Regions from separate parts of the Homo sapiens genome. Here region 2 is linked to region 1. Evidence: promoter capture Hi-C in human tissues and cell types (Jung and others, 2019). All regions are on one chromosome and are shown on one strand. The core of a region is centred on a gene start or on the middle of the fragment in contact, and the rest is flanking DNA. Distances in the headings are between cores, read along the strand shown.

Region 1 (4,676 bases), core at 1,383-3,882:
CCTTCCCACCAGCTCCCTCATCCTCATGGAAGGAGCATAAGAACAGGGGCTTGATTTGTTTGATTCTCTCATATTTCTCCAGCATATGCCATGCTGTAAGCATTCAATACATGAACTTATGCTGCCTATTTTACTGCTTTTGTTTGTGATTTTATGAGGCTGATGAGGTTGTTATATAATGTTTCTATAAATTATAAGGTGGGATGTTATTAAATAATTGTTTCCTGTCATTGTGATCCTCATTAGAGGTTCAGCCAGATCATTCCAGGCTCCTGAGTGTCCCTGCCCAGAGCTGAGGACCAGGGCCATTGCAAGCAAAGGTGCTGTGTGTCAGGTGAGGAGATGTGGACAAGTTTCCCTGCTCCTTGGTCTAAGGTCTTTCTGAGAGTATGTCATAAGGGAGACAGAGAAGGGTTGATTTATTTTGGAGAGGAAGAAGTAAGGAATCACTAAAGGTCCCCAATATTCCCAGGCCATGCTACTGTTTCTAAACGTGCCTAGCTGACTCCTGACCAGCTAGAATAGCAAGAGTGACTCCACCCAAGAGTGTCTAGCCCAGGGGTCCCCTGATCCTGGGCTGCACCCGGAAACCAGTCTGTGGCCTGTTAGGAACCTGGCCCCACAGCAGGAGGTGAGTGGCGGGCCAGCATTACTTCCTGAGCTCTGCCTCCTGTCAGATCAGCAGAGTCATCAGATTCGCATAGGAGCAGAACCCTATTGTGAACTGCATGTGTGAGGGACCTAGGTTGCATGCTCTTTTGAGAATCTTATGCCTGATGATCTGAGGTGGAACAGTTTCGTCCCAAAACCATCACCCCTCCAGCCTCCTACTTCCCACGTCCATGAAAAACTGTCTTCTATGAAACTGGTGCTTGGCTGGTCTAGCCTTATTCCTTAATAGACTGGTCAGGGGTGACTAATTTTTTCTGCAAAGGACCAATAATTAATATTCTTTGCTTCTAGGCTAACCTCTGCCATTGTGGCACAAAAGCAATCATAGACAATCTGTAAACTAAGGGGCAGGGCCAACTGTAGTTTTCCTGAACTGTGGATTAGAAGGGGGGTCTCCCAACACCTCAGATCCATTCTGGCCTCAGCATGGCTCTCCTTCTGGAGGTCACAAAACCTCTTTAGTTTCAGAATCACAGTGGCATGAGGCAGGGTAGGGAAAATTACATTTGGGAAGAAGGCACCTAAAGCTAGGTGGCATGGACAAAATACAATTGAATAAGGATCCCAGTATCCTGAGTTATTTTGAATTTAGTTCATCTAAAAGTGGGCTAAAGTCAAAAGAAGTTCAGTTCAACATGGTTGTGCTGGGCATCAGCTGTGCTGTTCATCTGCGGGGCTGATATTTAAGTGTTTAATGACTGGTATGGCCGGGGAACTGACCAGTTAATAAGGATGAGTGGCAGAAACAATCGGTAGGGACATGCCATTGCACATGGGTGCAAATCAGCTCTACGATGCAGACAGCCAAGCGGTACACAGGTGCAGCCTGGCAGTCAGGAAAGCAGCCCTGAGGCGGAGCTGGTGATCACAGATGTGCTGTAATGTTGGCAGACTCTTGAAAGGGAGGCCTGTGTGCAAAAGCATTTCCTCTATATATCTTTCACTAATGTTGGAAATTCCATCCGTAGACATCCATTTCTTTAGGTTAAGGATGCCACCCTTCTTTTAAAAACAAAACACGCTTGGAAGCATATATATATATATATATATATATATATATATATATATATATATATGTAGAAATCATTTTGAGTCAAGCAGTCTTTGTGAAATATTTGAATATGGATCATTTCTATCAGACCCTTTCCAGCAGTCATAGAGGAGAGATCTCAAAAGAGGAAAATACACAAAGTTTAAGTACATAAACGTTGTACTTTGTACTTACTACATAAACTTTGTTATGTACTTTGTACATAAACTTTTACTTCATTGGGGAATATGCTTTAGGGAGAAAAGGCCTTCAAATGAGAAGTGGGTTGGCACCCAGGAAGAACTTAGTCCACTTTAAATTTTGATCAGGGTTACCTTGAATATAAGAGCCATTTAAAAAGTGGAAACACAGGAAATCTCCTTGTTGTGACCGCTAAAGCTTAGCACTAAATTCACAACCTGCCTCTAGCGTGTGGATTATGCCTCGGTTTTTATTTTTCTGCTTCTATTTTTCCTCCTACATCATTCCCGGGAAGTACTTGTTTGCTCCTTTTATATTGCATGGTTTTCACAAGCCACCTGGAATTCTTTATGAAGCAAGATAGCTAGGTAGATATATCCTCATGTATTTATTCAGTCATGTAACATGGTACACCTAATATGCACCAGACACCAATCTAGGTGGACAGAAGATAGCATCAGTTAGACTTCAATGGACTTATATAAAATGATTTTAAAAGAACAATAGAATTTTTTTCTTATTTTCTCACTATGCCCTTTTAGGTTTTCTAGGGCAGAGGAGCAAGAAGGAATTGGGCAAAAATTCACAAACCTGTGCGAGGCGGTAGTTGTTCCTCCAGGTCCTGGGGGAGGCTGCAACTAGGGAGGGGGCTGCAGTGGAAAACTTCAAAGCCATGATGAGGAAGACAGCAAGGCCAGATGCAGGGAGCACCTTCATCCCCTCACAGTAGCTTGGTAATTATATCAGCCTGGGGGATGGCAGACAGTGCACGTTTGCACTTCGACCTTGAGCTCCTTTTATAGAGTCAAACAGGTCTGGACCCTCCGAGCAAGGATGATTCATGTCTCAAACAGTAATTATACAGCTCATTTCTCTCCCTGATGATGGGGTAACACAACTGTACACAGGAATCAGGGAAAGCTTCATATTTTTTTTGTTATTTACCAAGTGGCAAAAGGAGAAAAACAGTCACTTTTAATGAAGTTGGTCAGCTAGTTACAAAAATTGAAGTAAACTTGATTGATTTGAACCCAACTCAACTGAAACATTTGATTAGTCTTCATTTGGGGGCCTTTTTCCATTCTGATTACAGAAAAGTTAGATGATTACAGTATAATTGAATTTGTCCTCCAAGTAATCCCAAACTCCCCATGCATTCAACCCAATCGCCTGTATCTCCTGCATTCACTTCAAAATTTCTTAGTAGCAACTGCTGTTCATAATGATGGCTCTGAGACACATAAGATCCTGAATCATCAAGGCAAGATTACATTATACTGTGCTGACTTAGGGTGGAAAGTGAACTGGTAACTGTTAGAAAGCTTTTGGATGAATTAAGGCAAGAGTTACGTCTTCGTTAACCAAAACAATAGCCAGAACTCCCCAATCTCTGTGTACTCTGGTTAATTGGAGTCATATTGTTTTTCCTGGGTCTGATTAAGATGGATTTGGATCCAGAGATGATACGGTGAAATGGTGTCATATGGTGGGAAAAGCACTTAGAGTCAGACAAAGCAAGACTAAATATTTAAAAAGATATTTCCTAGCTGTGTGATGTTGGGTATGTCATTTAATCTCTGAATATCAAGTTTTTTTTAATCTACAAAAGACTGACAATACTACTACTATGTATAAACTTTTCAGTGTTATGGAGTAACACATATAGCATGACATCTGCAAGCACCACTTGGCATCCACTAGATGTGGATTCAAATCCTAATTTTGATTTTAGACTAAATTCAAGGTTATTCCTATAGTGAATACAGTGAATTCCTATAGTCTTTCTCACTCTGTTGCATTTTGATATGCTTTCTTTGCATGGAAGAGAAGATGGTGGAGTTACAGCCAATGTTTGGTATCTAGTGTACAACCCCAGGCACTGAACAAGAGTTTGTCACACATTAATATGGTTTGGCTCTGTGTCCCTAACCAAATCTCATCTCGAATTGTAATCCCCATGTGTTGAGGGAGGGAGGGGATTGGATCATGGGGGTGGTTCCGTCATGCTGTTCTCATGACAATGAGTGAGTTCTCACAAGATATGATGGTTTTATAGGTGTTTGAAAGTTCCTCCATTGATCTTCTCTCTCCTGCTGCCTTGTCAAGAAGGTGCCTGCTTCCCCTTTGCCTTGCACCATGATTCTAAGTTTCCTGAGGCCTCCCCAGCCATGTAAAACTGTGAGTCAACTAAGCCTCTTTCCTTTATAAATTACCCAGTCTCGGGTATTCCTTTATAGCAGTGTGAGAATGGACTAATACACACAGGCAAACAGAATTTCTGGCATGTACTGTGAGATAGACAAAACATGTGTCTCAGAAGAAGAAAAAAGAAAACCACAGATTAGATTCATTCAACTAAATTGTAAGCTGTTTGAAGACTGTATTCTAAAAAATGTTACTTAATCAAGTTTGTTAAAAAAAAAGAATGAATGAATGTACAAACATATACTAATCATTGCTTTTTGGTTTCAGGAAAGGAATAGGATATTGCAATAATTTTTCAAAATTTGCATTTATATGGTCTCCTGTCTTCTAGAGCCTTATCTTCAACAGCTGCTAAAATTGAAGAACAAAAAGAATCTTTGAAACTTCCCTTCAACTGGTCATCCTCTTCCCTTTTTCTCTCCTTTAAACACTGTTCCAATTCATTATGATGGCCCCAAAGCAAAGACAGACATGGAAGTGAACATTGGAGTGGAAGGAATGACGGTAAGAAATTCTGGGACCAATAGAGAGAAAATATTCTCACCTCTAGGACTCTAAAGAGTATTCT
Region 2 (4,676 bases), core at 706-3,205, 52 kb before region 1:
GTAAGTCTCAACAAATTTAAAAAAGCTTGTATCATTCAGACCACATTCTCAAACTATAATGCAATTAAATTAGAAGTTAATTAAAAAATTAATTGAAAAAACTGCCTTATTTGAAAACTTTATTAAGGGAACTTGCTACTCACTTTCTCTATAGGACGTGATGAGATAACAAACAGAACTGTTTTTACTGTAAGAATAAAACAGATGTTTTTAAATCTCAAAAATTCTTTTATCCTTCTTAGTAAGTTCCTAAGCTACTTATTAAAGTATTAATAAGTTCTTAGGCTACTTATTACTGTATTAATAAGTAATACTTATTAGCATAGGATCTTGTTAGTTCCTGAAGAACAATCCTTAAGATTTTCAACAACTTTCATTCAGAACAATCTTGAAGATTTTATATTTTCTTTTCTGATTTCTTCTTTGATTTTGGAAACAAGAAATAGAAAAATGAAGACTAAAAAACAAAAACTTCAAAAAAAGTGTGCAACTTTTGTTGAAAACTAAACTATGTTCTTGAGGTGGGAAAGGATGCGCTTACTAACACCGGACAATAATTAAAATCTTGAGATCATTTTTCACCTGCCTTCTTATATTTTAATGATTTACGTTGTCCTAAATTCCACATAGAATGTGGAGGAAATCAAAAGGAATGTAGATAACAATTTAAGGCTTAAGTCCTAAATTTCTATTGGGTCTCAAACTCTTCCTTGAACTCAAGCTTTTTATATCTATCTACCTACTTAAGCTTTTTATGTATGGACATTTCCCCTTGGATGTGTAATAGGCATCTCAAACTCAATGAATTCAAAATTACACTCTTGACCTCCAGCCCCCGTAAACCTGCTCTTACTTTGGTCTTTCCATTTCACCACTACTCTTTCACTTGTTTAGGCCAAAAACGTTGGAGTCATTGTGGATCCTTCTCTTTTTATTAAATTCTGCATGCACTTTAGATACAAATACTGTTGGCTTTACCTTGAAAATATTCCTCAATCTGACAATCTTAGCATTTTCACTGCCACTTCTTTGGTCAGTGCCACCATCATTTTTACCCTGGCAAATGGCACTGTCTAGTGTCCCTGAATCCATCATGTGCTTTTATAATCTGTTTGCTACTCAGCAGTCAGATCATGTTATGAACCTGCTGAAAACCCTTCTTATCACAGGGACCCGCAAGGCTTCCATAGCTTGGTTAGCTGCTTCTCTGATCTGATCTGTTTCTACTTTCCTTCTCCCTCACTGTCTCCAGCCACACTGGCCTTCCTGGTGTGCCTAAAACAGGTGCAGATCCTTCCTACCTACCTCAAGGTCTTGCGCTTATTGCTTCTTCTACCTGAAACTTCTAGAGACTTCCACAGCTTCCTCCCTCCCTTTAGTTATTCTGCATGAATACCCTGGACCCAGTATGTCCTTTTCCTAAACATATTTTTATAAAATGGCACTCCAACGTTCTTTATTACTTGCACTGCTTTATTTATTTTTTCAAAGCACTTTCACTATCTTTCATTATAGATCTCTATTCATTTGAATATTGTGTGTCTCTTTAATGGAATGTAAGCTCCTTGAGGGCAGGAGTTTATGCAAGAAAGCAGCTGAGCATAGGTTGGTGCCAGCACAAAGTAGGCGCTTAGTAATTATTTTCTAGTGAATTGAGAGTGAATATTAAGGATAGAGATGGGGGGGTAGCTAGATCCTTCAAAAAGGCTGAATTGGCTGTTTGTAAAGATGAACTAATTTTAGAAATTAAGCATTTCAAAAGAAACCACTGATAAAATTACTCACAGAAATTGCTGATTCATATATGGAAATACATTTAAAATCTGGCAAAGTGACATGCTACAATCATTGAGCAGTCTGCAGTTCAAGTGGAATGGGCTGTAATGGGACTTTTGACATCCATTCTCTATAGAGGCAGCTGTAAACACATTTAATACCCAACTCAAAAACTCACATTGTTTATCACTGCATTACAGACCTGGGACTTTCCAAGAATAAACAAATTGCTAACTATTTATACAGACATTCTTTTTTTTATGGACATTCACTGCAAATGATCTGAGATGGACTTAAGCGTTACATTTCTTAACTGATGTTTTGCAATTGTTTTCTCATTAACTCCCTCCCATGTTTTCTCTTCTCATCTCTCCTCAAACTCTTGTCAGAACAACATGCTGCATTGTGCAACAAAAGTTTACTTTCATCTCCAAACATGTTAAATGATACATTAGATTAAAGGAAAGAATGTTAAGACTAATGGAGAAGACATTAAAATGAAGAGATGTTGCATTAAAAAAAAAAAGAGTCCTATTTTGGATCCCAAAGCCATTCACTAATTTCCCATTGTAATTTATTTACCAGCAAGCTTCCCAATTCTGCTTCTAGTTCAATTCCAAGGGTCTAGGTGTTGGGAGCAAACCTGAAATTATGACATTTTGAGTATAACAGGATACCTTTTAAACTGATCATGTTGACAAGCCACGTAGGGATTGGAATGAGACCAAAGACAGGAGACTTGGCAGATGACAGATGATCAGAAGATGCTGTTTCTACTTTTTACCCAGACCTACTGGGGAGAAATGCCGACGATCTTTTGGCTTGGACTCTTCTAAGCTCCATTATGGTAGTCTAAAACACCAACCTATTGGCCAGCAGTATGCATTTCCTCTCAAATGGCACTTCATTGGGTAATTTTAGCTATGAATATTCACAAAGAACCTTCAATATCATTGTCTGTAGAAGAAAAATAACTAACAGGAATAAAGAAAAACATCTGGATAATATATAAATAAAAGCACCCTGAAGACCCTGTGAGCATTTAAAAATATTATACACAGAATTCTGAATGAAAAACTGCATAGTTTTTTTGCCATTTGCTTTGTGAAATGGACATCTAAGGTGTTTTGCAATAAACATTTGAAAAGAAACAGAAGACCCAAAGGCAAACTTAGGTCTTTCATTTAGGACTAGGCTAAATGGAAGAGGGCTTGGTTTATACCAGAGAAAATTTAATATGGAGCTGTTAGGAAAGCTCCCCAAGGAGGTGAATCCATTCATCCTTAGTAGCCTGTGTAGTGCTTTCAAAGGTTCAGCCCACAAAGAGTCATCACTGAGATTAATAGGATAATGCATAGAATTCATCAGGAAGTGAACTCTGTTTTGCTACCTCGTGATCCTCAAGGGAGTACTTCAACCACACTTTGTCCAAAACTGTTATTTAATAAGTCATGTTTGCACTCAGTTACTCTGAAGTCAAATGAGTAGTTTATGTTATAAATTATTTCTGCACAACGTTCTTGTATCATATGAGGATAAGTGCTCTGTGTTATGACACAATCACACCTTCTTGTGCTTTAGAGAGACTGTATTTTTCCAAAATACATACTAATTTTATATCTGAGAGCAAAGAGCTTTCTTCTTAAGACAGGGTCTTGCTCTGTCACCCAGGCTGGTGCAGTGGCACAATCTCAGCTCACTGCAACCTCTGACCCCTGGGCTCAAGTGGTCCTCCCACCTCAGCCTTCCAAGTAGCTGGGACCACAGGCATGCGCCACCATGCCTAGCTAATTTTTTGTATTTTTAGTAGAGACAGGGTCTCACCATCTTTCCCAGGCTGGTCTCAAACTCCTGAGCTCAAGTGATCCATCCACCTTGGCCTCCCAAAGTGTTAGGACTACAGGTGTAAGCCCCTATGCCTGGCCTAAAAGCCAAGAATTCTTTAACTCAACAAAAAATAATGATTTATAAGAATTATTTTTTGGAGATGGGGGATAAACATAGTATTTTTAATTATTTGATTTAATTTGACATTTGGAAGAGAAAAATTTCAGGTCATTGATTATCAATTCTTGTGATATTATAGCTCATCAGATGTTTAGCTATCTCAAGGGACATATACAAATTCTCCAAAATATCACCAAACAAAATGAACTCTAATGGCTTCAAAAACAACAATTATAGAGCCCCTGTAGAGTGCCAGGGACTACTTTGCATATTTTGACTCATATATTTAAGGCTCTAAATATCCTTAGGAGATAAAAACTGCCATTATTCCAATTTTATAAAGGAAGACACTGAGACAGAGAATGAGGATGAGGGAATTTGGTCAACATCACACAGTTGAAAATAGAAGATCTGGAGTTTGAATCCATCAGTCAGACCTGAGAGCATATGCTTTATTGCTTTCAGTGAATTCATTGACTAGTGAAGTGTCTTCTGTATGCACGATTCTGGGCTAGTGCTGGACATGAGGAGGACATCTGGCTGGTTGCGTGCAGCACTGGATGTCCTCAGGCTGGTGCTTCATTGTCATGTGGTCCCTGACACAGTTGCCAGAATGCATGACCTCCATGGATCATCACACTACTTTGATCTCCTTCTTTTTTTTAATGTAACAGCTTTATCAAGATATAGTTAACATAACATATAATTCACTCATGTAAAGTGTACAATTTAATGGCTTTTAATATATTCACAGAGTTGTGCAACCATCACCATCATCAGTTTTAGAACATTTTCATTATCCCAAAAAAAAGAACCCCATACCCATTAGTAGTCACTCCTTATAACCCCCTCCCCCAACTACTGACAAGCACTGGTCCGCTTTATGTCTCCATAGATTTTTTTATTGTGAACATTTCATATAAATAGAATCATACAATATGTGACCTTTTCTG

The links. The method cuts DNA at HindIII sites, captures the fragments that hold promoters and counts their contacts. A contact is called where the count stands out against the background at its distance.
Region 2: a contact is called between a fragment that was not itself captured here and the fragment with the promoter of MMP20 in region 1, in 1 of the 25 tissues and cell types used here (mesenchymal stem cells).

Annotation. Positions count from the first base shown.
Region 1 is chr11:102,622,700-102,627,375 of GRCh38, forward strand. It overlaps MMP20 (matrix metallopeptidase 20), which reads right to left and starts at 2,633. Exons shown (of 10, transcript NM_004771.4): 1 at 2,495-2,633. The coding sequence starts at 2,620. The HindIII fragment of the contact is 4,717 bases long and covers 1-3,024 here.
Region 2 is chr11:102,570,933-102,575,608 of GRCh38, forward strand. No RefSeq gene overlaps it. Among named protein-coding and RNA genes, the nearest start is that of MMP7, 43 kb to the left of the region's middle. The HindIII fragment of the contact is 3,164 bases long and covers 374-3,537 here.